Linked DNA regions of Homo sapiens: regions 2, 3, 4 and 5 are each linked to region 1. The links are contacts of gene promoters, found by promoter capture Hi-C in human tissues and cell types (Jung and others, 2019). All regions are on one chromosome and are shown on one strand. Each heading gives the region's core, a stretch centred on a gene start or on the middle of the fragment in contact. The rest is flanking DNA. Distances are from core to core; before and after follow the strand shown.

Evidence for each region. Contacts are between HindIII fragments. The study calls those that stand out against the background at their distance.
Region 2: a contact is called between a fragment that was not itself captured here and the fragment with the promoter of LYZL1 in region 1, in 4 of the 25 tissues and cell types used here (H1 embryonic stem cells, heart right ventricle, small bowel and 1 more).
Region 3: a contact is called between a fragment that was not itself captured here and the fragment with the promoter of LYZL1 in region 1, in 3 of the 25 tissues and cell types used here (heart right ventricle, mesenchymal stem cells and mesendoderm cells).
Region 4: a fragment that was not itself captured here is called in contact with the fragment with the promoter of LYZL1 in region 1 in 4 of the 25 tissues and cell types used here (heart left ventricle, mesendoderm cells, ovary and 1 more).
Region 5: a fragment that was not itself captured here is called in contact with the fragment with the promoter of LYZL1 in region 1 in 2 of the 25 tissues and cell types used here (dorsolateral prefrontal cortex and mesendoderm cells).

Annotation. Positions count from the first base shown.
Region 1 is chr10:29,287,344-29,290,829 of GRCh38, reverse strand. It overlaps LYZL1 (lysozyme like 1), which reads right to left and starts at 1,760. Exons shown (of 5, transcript NM_032517.6): 1 at 1,600-1,760. The HindIII fragment of the contact is 13,518 bases long and covers 1-3,486 here.
Region 2 is chr10:28,921,488-28,924,973 of GRCh38, reverse strand. No RefSeq gene overlaps it. Among named protein-coding and RNA genes, the nearest start is that of C10orf126, 77 kb to the right of the region's middle. The HindIII fragment of the contact is 5,125 bases long and covers 1-3,486 here.
Region 3 is chr10:28,945,200-28,948,685 of GRCh38, reverse strand. No RefSeq gene overlaps it. Among named protein-coding and RNA genes, the nearest start is that of C10orf126, 100 kb to the right of the region's middle. The HindIII fragment of the contact is 4,803 bases long and covers 1-3,486 here.
Region 4 is chr10:28,962,764-28,966,249 of GRCh38, reverse strand. No RefSeq gene overlaps it. Among named protein-coding and RNA genes, the nearest start is that of C10orf126, 120 kb to the right of the region's middle. The HindIII fragment of the contact is 3,221 bases long and covers 104-3,324 here.
Region 5 is chr10:29,014,459-29,017,944 of GRCh38, reverse strand. No RefSeq gene overlaps it. Among named protein-coding and RNA genes, the nearest start is that of C10orf126, 170 kb to the right of the region's middle. The HindIII fragment of the contact is 4,878 bases long and covers 1-3,486 here.

The sequences.
Region 1 (3,486 bases), core at 511-3,010:
TCTCACTCTGTTGTCCAGGCTGGAGTGCAGTGGCGCCATCTGGGCTCACTCCAAACTCTGCCTCCCAGGTTCAAGCGATTCTCCTGCCTCAGCCTCCTGAGTAGCTGGGATTACAGGCGCCCACCACCACACCTGGCTAATTTTTGTGTTTCTAGTATAGATGAGGTTTCACACTGTTGGTCAGGCTCATTTCAAACTCCTGACCTTGTGATCTGCCCACCTCGGCCTCCCAAAGTGCTGGGATAACAGGTGTGAGCCACCATGCCCAGCCCAAAACATGAGTGTTTTATCTTAGATTGCAAATGCATTGCTTTGCTAAGCTTCACCACCAGTGCTCCGGGGGGCCTCCTAAAAGTCTGGCACCTGACTGGGGAGCAAGAGGGATGGAGGACAAAGCCTCATGAAAGGAGGAAAGCACCTGGGGGAGCAGAGGGGCAATAAAGAGACCCCTGCGGAATCATCTGAAATGGGAGTAGGATCAAGAGAGCTGTCTCCTGCTGCCTACTGATTTTCCACAATCTCTTCCCCTCTTGAAATAATGTCTTCCCCAAATACAACAGCCTTGCTGGGATGGGGTGAAGTGAAATTTCTGACAACTACTCGGGATCCTGAACTTGATGTTCTTACATATGTTCATCCCGTGTCATTTTCTGCACTTGCCTAGAAACTTCTCCAGTCATTAGTTTCTCTCCCTGGGGCTGGATTCCTGCATTGAAAGGCTAGGCCCAAAACAGGGATAAGTAGTCATCAGCAAGGCCACCGCACCAAGTAACAAGCAGGGCTTTAAGGTGACTAAGCAATAAGGTAAGGAACTGCATTGCATGAGGGGCATGTACATTACAAACGTGAATAGCAAGCGTGGGCAAACCAGGCCCGCTTTTGTATGTAAAGTTTTATTGAAACATAGCTACACCCATTTGGTAATATATCATTGGTGGCTGATTTCCAACTACAGTGGCAGAGTTCAGTAATTGTGTTTGAGGCCGTATAGACCACAAAGCCTAACATATTATTATCTGGCCCTTTTCAGAGAGAGCATGCCAGTCCGCTGTGTACAGCACTGTGTTAAGCTGTGAGGGACAGACAAACGAGGTTTAAGATGCAGAGCTAAGGCCAGGCATGGTGGGTGATACCTGTAATCCAAGCACTTTGGGAGGCTGAGGTGAGCAGATTGCTTGAAGCCAGGAGTTTGAGACTAGCCTGGGCAGCAAAGGTAGACCCTGCCTCTACAAAATATACAAAAATTAGCCAGGCATGGTGGTGTGTGCCTGTGGTCCCAGCTACTGGGGAGGCTGAGGTGGGAGGATCACTTGAGGCTGGGAGTTTGAGGCCATAGTGAGCCATGATTGTGACACTGCACTCCAGCCTGGGCAGCAGAGTGAGAGACCCTGTCTAAAAAAAAAAAAAAAAAAGAAAAGAAAAAAGAAAAAAAGATACAGAGCTTACAAATAGAGTTGGTTTCCATCCCCTGCCTTAGAATTTTACTGATCTCAAACAAGTCCAAAGAAAACCCGCAGCAATGATAACCCCAAGCATCATGTTCTACATCCTTCAAGAACCTGCCATTGCTGGTTCTCATAAGAGTAATTTAGGTCTTACTGAAAAGGCAGATTCCTGGTGCCTGCCCCAGAGGCTGACTTCTCAGTTGAGTCTGCGGAAGAAACACTGCTCCACTTAGTCGGTGACAGGCAGCTCAGGGGAGCGTCCTGCATCCCCTGAAGCCATGTCTGATTCTAACGAGGCGCGAGTAATCCTTTCCTAGCTCAAGAACATTTCTTTAGAGTGTTAGAGAAAGAAAAATTCTTAATCCTTTGTTTCTCACCACCTAGAGATGCTAGAATTCTACTTCTTGGCACTAAAAGCTGTATCATCCTGCATGCTTGTGTTCTGAGGCAGGTGATAACTGTCTTCTGGGGCTTAATACCTCTTGTTTTTTGTCTTTTCCCCTCAACAACCCTCCTCATTACACAACTTGGCCAGGGCCTCCTGTCCAAGTGAGAGCTCTTCTCTGAGGCGTCTGCAAACTTTATCACAAATTCCATTAATAAAGAAAGTTAAGCATGTATCCTCTTTAGATGTACATTGAGTTATAAATCATACTTCTGTACCTCAGTACTAATATGCTACATAAATTATCAACATACATAAAACTAAAATTTGAAAATTAATGACATAGAGGTGAAATTAACATTAAAAATTTATTAACAGCACATTTGCTATAGTCAAATTATTATTAATAAAATATTTTTGTAATAACATGATTTTATTATTTTTGAAAAATTTGGCTTAACACTTTGTGAATCAATAACTAAAGGGCTGTTTTCAAGGTCTATTTATTTCAATGTTCAGATTTAGTGACACATTTGAAATGAATTCTCATTAGAATATGTAGATCTAAGTAGAAGTTTATTGTTGGCTGCACCTAACTAATCGTTATATTTTCTTAAATTCCATCTGCCAATAATGCAAAGGTTTTGTTGAAATCTATTTTGAAGTTCATATAGTATTGCATTATACAGATACAACATAGCATACTTAGCCAATTTCATATTGATGCACACTTATTTTATTCTTCTATTGTAAACATATTACAACCAGTAATTTTGTACATATGTCATTTGTAACTTTACAAGAATATCTTGCTGGATCAAAGGGTATAATTTTGTAATTTTGCTAGATATTTGCCAAATTGCCTTTCACATGGGCTTGTATCAGGAAGATAGCACACTGTGTTATCAAATGTTTCAATATTTCTCAATATTAGAGATGAAACATAATTTTTCAGCAGAGTTTCAATTTCAACTTTCGTTATTTCAAGCTGCTTGAGGGTCTTTTTTATCTTTAGAAGCCATTAGTGGACTTCTTGTGAACAGTCTATAATATGAGAAAATGTATAGGTTTTTCCCTCAAACATCTTTTTCAAAATGCTTTGAAATAGGGATCTTACCAGTGAGAAAATAGAGACGGATTGTCTTTTTCTTTTTCAAAAATGCTTGCTTAGCAAGTTTTCAGATATGACGTAAATATACAAAAGCCATTTACAATCTTATATACTAGGAATAGAAAATAAGAGTTTGAAATAAAAAAAAATCCATTTACAATAGTACACAAATGCAAATGAAGTACTTAAATTTAAACCTAACAAAATATGTGCAGGATATATATACTGACAACTATAAGACAGACGGAAAATTAAAGAAGACCTGAGTAAATGAAAAAGACACACCATATTCATGAATTTGAAGAGTCAATATTATTAAGATTTAATACATAGATTTAGTGGAATCCCATTTAAACTCCCAGAAAAATTGTTTAGAAAATATCAATAAGAGGGTCCTAAAACTTATATGAAAAGGCAAAGGGACTAGAGTAGGCAAAACTATTCAGAAGAATAATAAAATTGAAGGACTCATATTGCTTGATTTTAGAACTTAATATAAAGCTGTAGTAATCAAGACAGGATGATATTTGTGGAAACAGACACAT
Region 2 (3,486 bases), core at 583-3,082, 370 kb after region 1:
TTCCAGAGACAATCAGGGCGTTCCCCCGGAACCTCAGTAATACCTTTCTCTGAAGCACTGTGGGCAGGCATGTTTTAGCAGCAGGGGCCAGTAGCCTGTTCTTGCCAAAATCTCCTTTACCTCTTCCCCGTCTAGCTCTGGGTGGCCAAGGGAAATGGCTTGGCGGGCTGGAACTGCCTCAGGTTCAACTGAAGGGAGCCTGTGCTGCCTGGAATCCAGAAGGCAGCACAGTTTTCTTCGGGAGCCCTCAGGAGCCTCCTGAGAGCTGGAGCCAGGGAGCGTTCCCCTTTGTGATTACACTGACACCCTTCCCACCTCCCCTGCACGTGCTTCTGCTTTGATTCAGAACACCAGAACAAAATCAGATCCACCCCAAAAGAACACATGCCTTAAAAGCAGAGGAGAAAAAGGTTGTGGAGCCACAGTTGCTTCTGCTTCCCGACTCATCAAATTCTACAGCGCCTTTCAAATTACATAGAAAATAGGGCCGGGCGCAGTGGCTTAAGCCAAAAATCTCAGCACTTTGGGAGGCCGAGGCAAGCGGATCACTTGAGGTCAAGAGTTCGAGATCAGCCTGGGCAACATGATGAAACCCCGTCTCTACTGAAAATACAAAAATTAGCCGGGCGTGATGGCGCCCGCCTGTAATCCCAGCTACTCAAGAAGCTGCAGCACGAGAATTGCTTGAACCCAGAAGGCGGAGGTTGCAGTAAGCCGAGATCTACCCATCACCCCCGACTCAAAAAAAAAAAAAAAAAAAAGAAAAAGAAAAAAGAAAGAAAAGAGGGTGGCTCATGGCAAACACGTTAAGTAAGTTTCATCTCGTGTGCCAGCTCCATTTAATTGGTAGTGGTGTTCTAGAGCACTGTGCTAAGAAACCTTCTGAGGCAGAATTCAACCAGCAGGAAGGAATGCTAGTATCCTTTACTAATTTCCTTTTTTTTCCCTTTTTTCTTTTTTTTTTTTTTTTTTTTTTGGTAGAGGTGGAGTCTTTCTATGTTGCCCAGGCTGGTCTCAAACTTCTGACTTCAAGTGATCCTCCTGCGTTGGCCTCCCGAAGTGCTGGGATTACAGTCGTAAACCACCACTCCTGGATTATCCTTTACTAATTTCATTCATAGATGAGAGATTGGGAGAAGAAAGAGGAAACTGCCACTTATTTTCCACATAAGTGTCATCTTCAAGGTAGGAGACAGGGCCAAACCATCAAGTATTGAAACCCAGGCTTTACCACTTTCTAGCTGTATGATTTGGGGCAAGCTACTTAACCTCTCTGAATCTCACAAAGCCTTATCATTATATGGAAATCATATTTAAAATTATTGGGAAGGAGACAAGATTTGACATTTTAAAAGCATCACTTCCCCCTGTCCTGAGAGGTAAAGGTTGTGTCCATAGGCCTGGAATCAGATGGGCATGGGCCTGAGCCTTGGCTGTGACTGCAATGCGGGGTGAATGGAGGAGATCTAGCAGAGTAATGCCTTTATAGAGGGAAGATTTACAGAGGATAAGCCATCTAAATAGAGCTGGATACAGAGAGGAAATCATAGAAGAGTCAGGGACAAGGACAACCAATCCAGTTCCAAGTGGATGGTGCAGGAGCTAAGCCTCAAGTGCTTCCCAGACAGGTTGGAAACTGCTGTGGCAAATTTTTTCCTAAGGTCCCAGGAAGATGCCAATAGCACTTAGATGTGAGTTCCCAGACCTAAGGATCTGGCACTGGAGGGCAAAGGAGGCACATCTTAAATATTTGATCTCTCCTCTCCTTTTCCCACCTGCTAGTTCCTTCAGTCATGTGCCAGCCAGGTGTCCATGACAGAGAAAGGCCACTGAGATGAAAGGGCAACGCTGTTCAACTGGAAGCTCTTTGATTTTGCTAAACACGCTAGTGGCTTTGGGTGTGTACACCAGTTATGAAGCTATTGTCTGTCAGCTCCATGTCTTCCTTCTGTATTCTGCTCAGTGATGCTGATGTCAGACCTGCAAACCACACTTCTATATGGCCACCTGCTCTATTAGGTTCCACCAAGAAGGGATTCAAGAGGGAGACTGCAGGGCTGGAAGAGGAGAAGGGAACATATTTCTTCTTATCTGTTTCCTACTCTTTTGAGCATCATGGTAGCAATACTACTTCACTGCGCAGAGGCAGTTCCTTTCCACATCAGCCACAGAATCCAGGTGCCAGCTTTTCTAGCACTTGCACAGCCAGCTTCTTCACACCTCAGCCTTAGAAACACCAGCACCAGATAGACAATATTTCCTCTGTGGAAATCTGGGTCCCAGACCCTCACACTTCTTCTCCCAGCTCAGAGACACTAGCTCTGACTAAGAAGTACACTTTCATCCTAGGTGAGAATCCCATCTTCACAGGGCCCATCCTCAAGCATTTATGTTTTCATAGCTCCAAACTCTTCCCATAGTTCTTTCAGCCCTTGGGGTGGTAGCTGCCTTCTGCAATTGCTACCTCTGGGATACCTTACTATACATTCTGCCATTTCAGTTAACTGGTCAGTAACCTAATTCTAGTTAGCAATTCTGTATATTAAATTCTTTCTGTGAAAGTCACTGGTGTGGTTTCTGTTTCCTGCCTGGACCCTGGACTCTGAGTCAAACCTGAGAATTCTAGTAGAAGAGCATGGAATTGCTCTGCATCACAGAAGGAAAAGAATGTGAGCCTGCCAGAACAATCCAGGAGGGAGGGTGAGAGGCAGTCATGGAAGCAGCGAAGGGGGCACCCAGCAGACAGGCAGCCTAGAGAGGACACAGGGAGTGGGGAAAGGGGGGTCAAAGGGCTATAAGAGCATTTTAAGAACTGCTTGGCTGGGTGCAGTGGCTCACGCCTGTAATCCCAGCACTTTGGGAGGCCAAGGCAGGCGGATCACCTGAGGTCAGGAGTTCGAGACCAGCCTGACCAACACGAGAAACCTCGTCGCTACTAAAAATACAAAATTAGCCAGGCATGGTGGCAGGCTCCTGTAATCCCAGCTACTCAGGAGGCTGAGGCAGGAGAATCGCTTGAACCTGGGAGGCGGAGGTTGTGGTGAGCCAAGATCGCCCCATTGCACTCCAGCCTGGGCAACAAGAGCGAAACTCTGTCTCAAAACAAACAAACAAACAAAAAACCGCCCTGCCTGCTAGTCCCTCCTCTCCCTTTTTTTCCAAACCTTCAATGAAGTCTACTCCATCCATAGGTAGTGTGAAGAGAGTTAATCGTTTGTTTTAAAGACCTTTTAAGAAGCTTAGAGATGGACTTGATGCCAAGTATTATCTTGTTAACTTGTACACTTTTAAGAACTGATCATAATCCTTCTCATTACAACTGTTGAGAAAAAGCTAAGAGTCTTTGATGGGCAACATGAGTTTTTGGTCAAACAAGTCTTCAAAGCAATGACTGCCCAAGGATTCTTAGAAATCATATAACTTTTCTACTAGTGAAAAAATGATTTTCTTATCACTCTGTTCACTTCAAGGTGGAGCGAAAGATGA
Region 3 (3,486 bases), core at 395-2,894, 340 kb after region 1:
TAATCTCCCCAATAGCCCTTAGATATATGTGACCGAAAGAGTCAATGATGAAGGAAATGGATAAATCCTACGGCTGCCTAAGAACTCAAGCAGCTGTGATTAATAGGGCTTGTATACAGCAGGTGCCAATCAATCTCCTTATTTATAGAACATCTTCAACTTACCAAAATATTTAGAAATAAAATTTTCTAGTTAATTTCTAATAAATTTCATTGTTTAATTGAGAGTCAACCAGAAAAACCTTATTTTTTGTTTTACCTTTATTGTTCAAAGTCTCCCTAAAATGTGAATAAGAGGGATTTCTAAACAGCATTGTAGCCTTGGTCTCCTAAGAACACTTTTTTCTGAGAAGAGAAAGGCAGCACAGCATAGTAGCAAGACACCTAGACTAGATGTTGCCAGGCCTGAAGTTTACCCTTAGAATTTTCCACAATTGAGTCACATGCCTTTGGGTGTATCACTTGGCTCTATGAACCTCGGTTGCCTCTGAGATATATTCAGTTATTTGTTATATGATATTCAGGCATAAGAATTCTGCAAAAGTATAGCAAAATGAATGCATTTTCTCAACTGACAGCTGTTGAGGTTCTATATGTCCTATGAGCAATTGTGATTTGTATTGTCATTATTATTACCTGTGAAAGTCACTCATGTCCATGTGGATGTGAAAGACTAGTGCAAAGATGAGCCACAGGGCTGTTTTTCACATTAGTAAAAACTTGAAATCAACCCAAATGTTCTGCTTTTTGTTTGTTTGTTTTGAGAAAAAAAAGGGGCTAAAGCGTAGTAGTGCAATCATGGCTCACTGCAGCCTCAAACTCCCAGCCTCAAGCAGTCCTCCCATCTCAGCCTCCCAATTACCTGGGACTGTAGACACACGCCACAACATCCAGCTATTTTTTTTTATTTTTAGTAGAGACAGGGTCTTGCTATGTTGCCCAGGCTGATTTTGAACTCTTAGGCTCAAGTAATCCTCCCACCTCAACCTCCCAAAGTGCTGGGATTACAGGCATGGGCCACTGCACCTGGCACCAAATGTTCTAAATATTTGAAATATACAGGCCTGGGTTTCCCAGTGTATCTCCCCTCCCACAACTCTTTCATGAGACATTGACCACAGGTAGTTTTTTTCCATGTAAAATGTAGTATATAGTGTTATATGAACGTTGCTACTGTGTTCACAATGTGTGAGACTTGGGCCTGAGCCATAAGAGACCAGCGTGAACTTGTGTAACGTGGTCATACGGGAAACTAGCTTCCTATCATGTGGCTTGGCTCAAGACTCTGCCCAGTACACATGCTCCGTATTAAGTGATGTGAAAACTGATCCAAACAAAGTCTCTCTGTTAGGAACAGTAAGAGAGTAGCAGGGACCAATGGATCTCTGTGTCAAGGGGATGAAATGGCCCAATCACTAGTGGTGGAGGTCCCCTGAGCTTGCCTTGCCTCTTGAAAATGAGACATTCTTCCAGTCTTTCTTAAAGTCTGGTACCTGGAATGTCTGAACAACGATAAAGACAGCTTTCTTGATTTCTTCATATTCTAATCTTAGCTTTCCTCACTTAAGTAACTTAGCAATGTGTCTTCTTTGCAAACTAAAAATGTCTACGTTTAAGATACATTAGCGTATACGTATACAAAACTTGATAACTTTTTCCAAAACTACACATACAGAGGAGATCAGAAAGGAAATCCATCAATGTGTTAACAATCTGAGAATACTGGTATCTACTTTTACTTTCTCCATGTTGCTTATCTTTATTTTCTGATTTTTTTAAACACACAAGATTGTTCTTATTGGAGGGAATGAATTTTTTGTTGTAAAAATAATAAGTTCTATCCAGCTCAGGGACAAGATGACACAGAGTTACTTCTCTCTGCTCTTCCTCTCTAAAAATAGCTAAATATCCTGGAACTAATTCAGCAGACAATCATAAAAGAATTTGAAAAAGTGAGAAGAAGGCTAGAAATGTCAAGCCTTAAGGGATGATGTCAGAGTGAGTTCCTTGCGTTTTTTTGCTATGGTTCATATATCACAGACTGGACATCAAAAAGGCAGCCTTTTGGCAGCCTTGAACCACCTACAGGAATAGACAAATAAAAATACTTGCTCCTCTGCTGAAGAACTGAGAAAGGGGTGGTCCAGCGGAGACCTAATGAAGTGATCTACCCCAAACCCAAGGCAGTGGCAGGCCAATCAGCTGCAGCAGCAACTAAAACCCAGTGCTTCCAAAACTACCCCTCCATTCACACTGAAAGCTCTTCAGGGATTGATTGAGTGAGAGCCCAGCAGAAGCAGAAGAACAAAGTCAGCTAGAACAATATGCAAGGGCTCTGAAATTAAATGGTCATTGAACCAATAGCTCACAAAAATAGGCAAGACCTAAACTTAAACAGAAGTTGAAATAGAATCAAAAGCTGCCAAGCATAATATTCAAAATATCCAAGACACAACAGAAAGCCATTAATGATAGGAAGAACCATAAAAAACACAAAAGTGAGAAAAGACCATCAGCTGACAGCAGCACTGAGATGAATCATGACTTGGGATTATCAGATAAAGAACATTAAGTAGCCATCATTAAAATGCTTCTACACTTACATATTTTCTAGGAAGAAATAAAATAGAAAATCTTGGCAAAGAAACAGAAACGTTTTTTTAAAAAAAACTATAATTTATAGTGAAATTATAGAAATGAATAATACAAGTGAAAATTATAGAACTGAAAAATACAATTACTAAAACTAAAAAAACCCCACTGTATGAATTCAGTGGTAAAGTGGAGACAACAAAGAATAGAATTGGTGAACTTTAGTTTATTCAAAAAGAAAATAAACTAAAAAAAAATTTAATGAATGAATTCTTAGCATTTATGGAACAAAAATGTAAGTTTAAAAAAATTATATTATTGAACTGCCAGAATGAGAGGGAAAAGAATGTGAAGCTGAAAAGGGAGTCAAATAAATAATGGCTGAAAATGTCTCCAGTTAGCAAAAGACTTAATCCAACAAATCCAAGAGGTTGGGCAAACCCAAACAGCATAAACTAAAAGAAATTCCCACCAAAACACATCATAATGAAACTTCTGAAAACGAAAGACAAAGAAAAATGTCTTAATAATAGCAAGAGAGAAATAACATATTACCTGTAGCGGAACACCAATTTAAATGAAAGCAGATTTCTCTTTGAAACCTAGGAGGCCAGAAGGAAGTGACACAACACTTACAAGTGCTAAAAGAAAAGAAAAAAAAATTTAAAACACATAAAACTGAATGAAAATAAAAATACAATGCATCAAAATTTTGGAGAGACATCTAAAGTAGGGCAGAGAGGCAAATTTATAGCACTAAATGCTTACATTAGAGAAGAAGAAAGGTCTCAAGTCAAAGATAATAGCTTCTACCTCAATAAACCAGAAAGAGAAGAGCAAAATAAGCCCAAATCAAGCAGAAAGAAGGAAATAATAAAGAGAAGAGCAGAAAGAA
Region 4 (3,486 bases), core at 465-2,964, 320 kb after region 1:
ACATAGCATAGAAATCAACCAATTGCATGTGTGGATAGGTCATAAGTGGATGAGATATTCCTTTGCACGATTTTCCTTGACAGGTAAGCTGTCATCTTCCTCATAGAGGTATTCAGACTGAGTTTTCTCAATTTATCTTCATCAGTCCCTGCTGAGTCAATCTTATTGAGCATCTCTTTAACTTGTCAATTCTGATCTAAGCCAGGGAATTCTGCTATGTGTGCAGCTACAGCCAGACTTCAGACATCTGAATGGCCTTGGTCTTTTTATAGTTTTTCGCATGGCAAATAGACTCAGGCTTCCGCAGACTTGCTGATACGGAGCGAGGTAAATCAATTTCCACCATGCCAGGTACTGAGGCTGAGGCTTCAGGACCACACTGCTGGACACAGAAACTTCCTCATCTTTTCTCTCATTCCAAACTTAGAATAACACTGGCTGTCTTACAGGACACCAGGAAGACTGCAAAGATCTTAACCCTGGTCTCAGGACAGACTATAGAATAAGCATCTGAGAGAAGAAATGGAGAGAGTGGGATTATTTTCCCTCTAAGAAAAGAAAGGATGATGTAGAAAGCAGGTAGTATAGGAAGAAGCAATCTCAGATAACAGAAATACAGTCACGTTTGTGTTGAAATAACTTTTCTAAGCTTATTGGGATCCTCTAGAATAATGAACTTTTTGTGACCTCCCCATCTATCATGTAGGTGGTGATTATACCACATCCCCTAACAGGAAGATGTTGACTCTGCTTCCAAGGCAAACCAGTTATGAAATACCGCCATAGCCACATTCTTGGTCCATTCTACAGTGCAATTCAACAACTGGGTTCAAACCCTTGGTGTGACAAAAAAAAAAAAAAAAAAAAAATAAAGATAAGTGGAAAAGAAAGATCGTTGATTTTTTAGACCAAAAGGAAACTAAGTTAGCTATTTCTAATTTCTCTGTGAAACACTGGTTTCCTCTTACTCCCTCAAAAACAATTGGTGTTTCTCTAGATAATGCAATTATTTATAGGCTTCTACTGAATCTTTTATATTATCCTTTTCTTAGACTTCCAGGGCAGGCACAACTGGGCAAATAGTAAAAAAGTTTATTTTATTTTTTTTTTACCTTGATTAAGTAGATTGTATGCATACATGTATTTAAAACAAAAATAAGTAAGAGAATGATAAAATGCATGACTTGAATCCTGGCTACTCTTGATGGGGGAGGCAAGAGGAGGGGAGAGAGGAGGGGCATACAGGCAAACAAAAGTTACAGATATTACTCCGGGCTTGAGTATGAGCAGGCAGTTCACGGGGCTTCACCATATTACTATAAATAAATAACCTGTAATCCCAACACTGTGGGAGGCTAAGGCAGGAGGATCTCTTGAGCCCAGGAGTTCCAGATCAGCCTGGGCAACATGGCAAAACCCCATCTCTACTAAAAATACAAACAAAGAAAAAACTTAGCCTGGTGTGGTGGTGCCCGCCTGTAGTCCAACTACTTGGGAGGCTGAGGAGGGAGAATCGCTTGAGCCCAGGAGGTTGAGGCTGCAGTGAGCTGTGATTGCACCACTGCACTTCAGCCTGGATGACAGAGCAAGACCCTGTCTCAAAAGTAAATAAATAAATAACAAAAACAAGTATTACAAAAACTATATTTCTCATTGTTCTACTTCTGCCTTGTAGGCAGTTGCATTGGTAAGTTTATTCTGTAAGCTATTTAACTTCTGACATTTTCCCCATTGATCTTCTTCCACAAGTCCAAGTGAGTAAATGGAGTCAAAGCCCACTTGGAGGCCCAGCAGCCCTCTGCTTTCTCACCCATGCCTGAATGTGTGATGACCCCTGAACTGGGCTCCTGTGCTATGAAGCTTGCCCGACAGTGGGAAAATCTCCAAGTGTGGTTCTTATGCCAGCTCTCCTTTACCAGTGAGCCAAGCTGCTAGGAGGAAGTTATGCTACTCTTTCTTATGTATATTGCACATCAGGCTCACTATGCGCTGGTTACTTGCCCAAGTCTGCTGAGACAGAACACTCACACACGCAAGTTACATGAAGTGAATTTATTACTTAGGCAGCAAGGGACAACAGAACCCTGGAATTCACGATGAGCCTGTGCCTCCCTAAGTCTCAGGAAAATTGCCCATGGCAGATGGAGTTTCATCTGTGTATGCCCCAATTGCATCGCAGCTGAGGGACCCGAAAAAGCATCCTGCCCTGAGTTTTATACCCTGTGGTTACAGGACTCATTAAGCTAAACCATTGAAGGGACATCCTTTTTCTAGGAGAGGCTGGAACAGAGCCCAGGCTGTTCCAGTCAGCTCCCCCTTATCTCAAGATATTGCATTCCCAGCACACTCATCAGTTATTATTGAGAACAAGTAAGAAATGGGAAGAAATGGGTTAGTCCAAGGCCCCCAGAGAACTGTCTTACATATATCTTTTTAAGAAATCTTTCACAAAGGAGTGGTTCTATAGGTGGATATGGGCATTCCTGGGGCTAGCTGTAATACCATGAAACACTGTAGAAGCCTTCTCAACCAACCTGTTTGATCAACTCCAGAAACATATCTGGTGCCCTGTAAGACAAACAGAACAATGGCCTGGGCTCCCAGAATGCTAAAGGTGATGCCTGGCCTCTTCTCCTGCTAACTGTTGACTTATTTGCTTACTCGGAGTTACTTAATACCTTGTGATAACAGTCATAGTCATATAATTATGAGATTTAATTTTGAGTTAAGTAAATTGATGAAAACAAATATCAGAAGAGGGTTGTTTCTATAAACCTAGGTTGAGTGTTTTGGAAAGCTAGATAAATGTGAGTTGCAAAAATGAATCAAATTAGGCAAGGGTTAGACAACTAAAAATTACTGGGTAGGAAATTCTTCAAATCTATGAGGAGTCTGCACTCTAGTTTCTTTGTGCTTGTCCTCAGTTTTATTCTAGTTTAAAGAGAGCAAAACTAGAGATAAAGCATGCTGCTTTACAGGAATGGGTTTTGTGAGGAAGAGAAAAAGGAACCCTAAGTAGAGGCCCTATAATTGGAGTAAAAGCCCTCAATCTGGCATCAAAAGCTTGGCAAATGAATATATATTTATACATGTCAAGTTCAAATTGTCTTAAAATATATATATGTGTTCATCCATTTTCATGCTGCTGATAAAGACATACCCAAGACTGGGAAATTTACAAAAGAAAGAGATTTCTTGGACTCACAGCTCCACGTGGCTACAGAGGCCTCACAATCATGGTGGAAGGCAAAGAGGAGAAAGTCATGTTTTACATGGATGGCAGCAGGCAAAGAGAGAGCTTGCACAGGAAGACTCCCATTTTTAAAACCATCAGATCTCGGGAGACTCATTCACTGTCACGAGAACAGCTAGGGAAAAACTTGCCCCCATAATTCAATCACCTCCCATTGGGTTCCACCCACGATGTGTGGGAATTGTGGGAATTACAATTCAAGATGAGATTTGGGTGAGGACACAGCCAAACCA
Region 5 (3,486 bases), core at 534-3,033, 270 kb after region 1:
AGTTTGCCAATATTTTCTTCCATTTTGTAGGTTGTCTTTTCACTCTGTTTCTTGTTTCTTTTGCTATACGGAAGCTCTTTGGTTTGACATAATCCCATTTGTCTATTTTTGGTTTTGTGGCCTGTGCTTTTGAGGTCTTACCCAAAAAATTCTTGACCAGATCAATGTCATAAAGTATTCCCCTGATGTTTTACTCTACAGTAGTAGTTTTATCATTTCAGCTTTTCCATTTAAGTCCTTCGTTCATTTTGAGTTGATTTTTGTATATGGGCTCTAGCTTCATTCTTCTGCATGTGGATATCATCTTCCCAGCAACATTTGTTGAAAAGACTATCCTTTCCCCAATGTGTGTTTGTGGCATTTTTGTCAGAAAACAGTTGGCTACAAATGTGTGAATTTATTTCTGGGCCCTCTTTTCTGTTCCATTGGTCTATGTGTCTGTTTCTATGCCAATACCATGCTATTTTGATGACTATAGCTCTGTAGTATATTTTGAAGTTCAGTGGTGTAATGCCTCCAGCTTTGTTCTTTTTGCTCAAAATTGCTTTGGCTATTCAGGGTCTTGTGTAGTTCCATATAAATTTTAGGATTTTTTTTTCTATTTCTGTGAAGAATGTCATTGGTATTTTGATAGGGTTGGGTTGATTCTGTAGATTCTTTGGGTAGTATGGACATTTTAATAATGTTAATTTTTACAATCTGTGAACACGGATATTTTTCTATTTGTGTCTTCTTTCATTTCTCTCATCAGCATTTTATAGTTTTCATTGTAGAGATCTTTCACTTTCTTGGTTAAACTTATTCCTAGGTATCTTTTTTGTAGCTGTTGTAAATGTATTTTTAATCTTAACCCCCCTCTAAGGAAGCAATTTATAATTGAAGACAATTCAGAGGTATTTTCCTTCTAGTCCTGCAAAACTCAATCTTAGGTTCTGTAAGCCTCTTGTAGGATACAGTCCACACCAAATAATATCTGAAGTTATCCATCTTAGTAGAGATATCACTTTGCTGAACCTCAAGACACAGATGTACTAAGGCTTAGCCACAGTGAACAGTTGCCCAGATCTTTCATCTAACTCCAAGGAGATTTTTATCCATCTCCTTTTGGCTGAGGAGGACTAACAACTCCCTTTACATTTCTAATCAGTTCCAGAGACATGGGGTCTTTGTTAGTGTTTTTTAAAAATATCGATCACTTTGAGCAATTGAGGAAATATTCATTACCAAGGCAACAAATATAAGTGCTCCTCTCGAAGCCAAAAATATTCCAAAGGTCTGTAGGCTGAAGTACATAAGGCTGTAGGTCTGCAGGCTGTTTTCATATATCAAATATACCAAAGGTCTGTAGGCTGTTTTCATTCAAAATTATGTAAAGCATCCTATCAATAAAATGCAGAACTGCACATGGGAATGACTGTCAATCCTGGTACATGTCGCACGTTATGAAATCTGCCAGTGGCCAAATAAAGACTGTGAAATGCTTTGAGCTTCTCAGAAGAAAGCCACTAAAATTACCAGGAGTAAATCGGGGACATTATGCAGTTAAAGGGGACTTTTTGTTTCCATAATGCTTTGCAGCTATGAACTGTTCTTCTCATATTGTGATCCTGGGTAGTAGCTCCACTTGGAGTTTCACTGCTTAAACAGAAGATAATAAAATTGGAGAACAAAATGACACCCCAAGGACATACATATGGTGAGTTCTATGTTAACACAAACCAGAGCTAAAAAAGGGGTCTGGGACTGGGAGGTACCAAAGAAGTTTGATTAATGTAGAAAGCCCACCTGCATAATTAAAGCAAACAAACTGAAGAAGCAAACAAACCCCCCACCACTTCACATCTATAGGATTGAACTTTGCCAGATTTTCATTTCACTTTGTGGTTGGTAGGAACTCAGATGGAGGCTCATCTTTTTAAAGCAAAAATCAAACACCCAGGAGAGTTATGTGACGTGCGAGGCTTAGCAGACAAGCAGTAGAGGTATACTTAAACACTTGCAGGCCTGGAAAGTCTAAGATGGAAAAAAAGGAAAGCAACACTGCGGGGCTTCTTGTCCTGCAGCTCTCATTGAACAGGCTGAGCAAAAACAAAACAAAACAAACAAAACAAAACAAAATCCCTGACCTGGAGGAAAAAGACTTTGGAGTGTTCAGGCAGGAGTCAGAGATGAACACGCACTTTGCTTGAGCTCTGCAGTGCCAAGTGGCCCCAAGGAAATTAGGGTCAGGAGGAAAGATATCTCTGACTCTGGAGTTTAGACTGTAATGCCAGCTCTCTGTAGGCCTGGGAGGCAGGGGGCTGAGCAGAGACAGAAGAATGGTCACTGAACCCACAATCCCTTTCCCTTTATTTCCCAACATCTTTTCTGTGTTATACCCAAAGCCATAAAGAAATGGGTCCTTCACTAGCCAAACTATGACCTGAGACTTATTTTCATTCTTAGTGAGTTAGCTTAAGATTGATAGCCAACATTTCCTCTGTGTAAGCAGCACATTCCATAACAAATCCAAGAATAGCAAAACAACAATACAACATCCTTTGGGTGGGAATAGATGACAAAAGTACTTTTGTAAACTTGAGAAAAAAACTTGAAAAACATGATTGTCATCATATTAAAAAGAAAAAGAAAGAGAAAAAAACTCCTGTAATGTTCATATAATCTAAATTTCTAAATTTTAAAATATAAACAAATACATTAGAGGGGAAGTTCCTCAAATTGATAAAAAACATCTACAAACATCTATATCTAATATACTTACTTGTGAAAAACTGAATGCTTCCCCCTGAGACCAGGAGAAGGCAAGGATATCCACTCTCATCACTTCTTCTCAACATAGTGCTGGAAGTTCTAGTCATACAACAAGGCAAGAAAAAGAAGTGAAAGGGATACAGATTAGAAAGAAAAAAAAACTACCTCTATTTTCGGAGGAAATGATTACATAAAAATCCCAAAGAATCTACTACCAAAAAAACTCCTAGAACTAATAAATGAGATCAGCAAGCTTACAAGATACAAGATAAACATACAAAATGTAATTGCTATCAATGAATGCAATGAATATGCAGACATGGAAATTAAAAATACAGTAACATTTACAATTGCTCAAAAATGAAATACCTAGGTATAAATCTAACAAAACTTGTATGGGACTTTGTATGCTGAAACTACAAAATGCTGATGAAGGACATCAAGTAAGACCTAAGTAAATGGAGATATATATACTATGTCCATGGATTGGAAGTAATGAATATAGTAAAGATGTCAATTCTGCCCAAATTGATATACAAGTCTAATGCAATTTCTATCAAAATTCCTGCAAAATTTTTTGTAGATATAGACAAAATTATTATAAAATTCCTGTGGGAAGGTAAAGGAACTAAAACAGCCAAAACAATTTTGGAAAAGAAGAAAAAAGGCAGAGGAATCTATCTATTCAATTTCAGGACTTACTATAGAGCTACAGTAATTAAGACTGTGTGTATT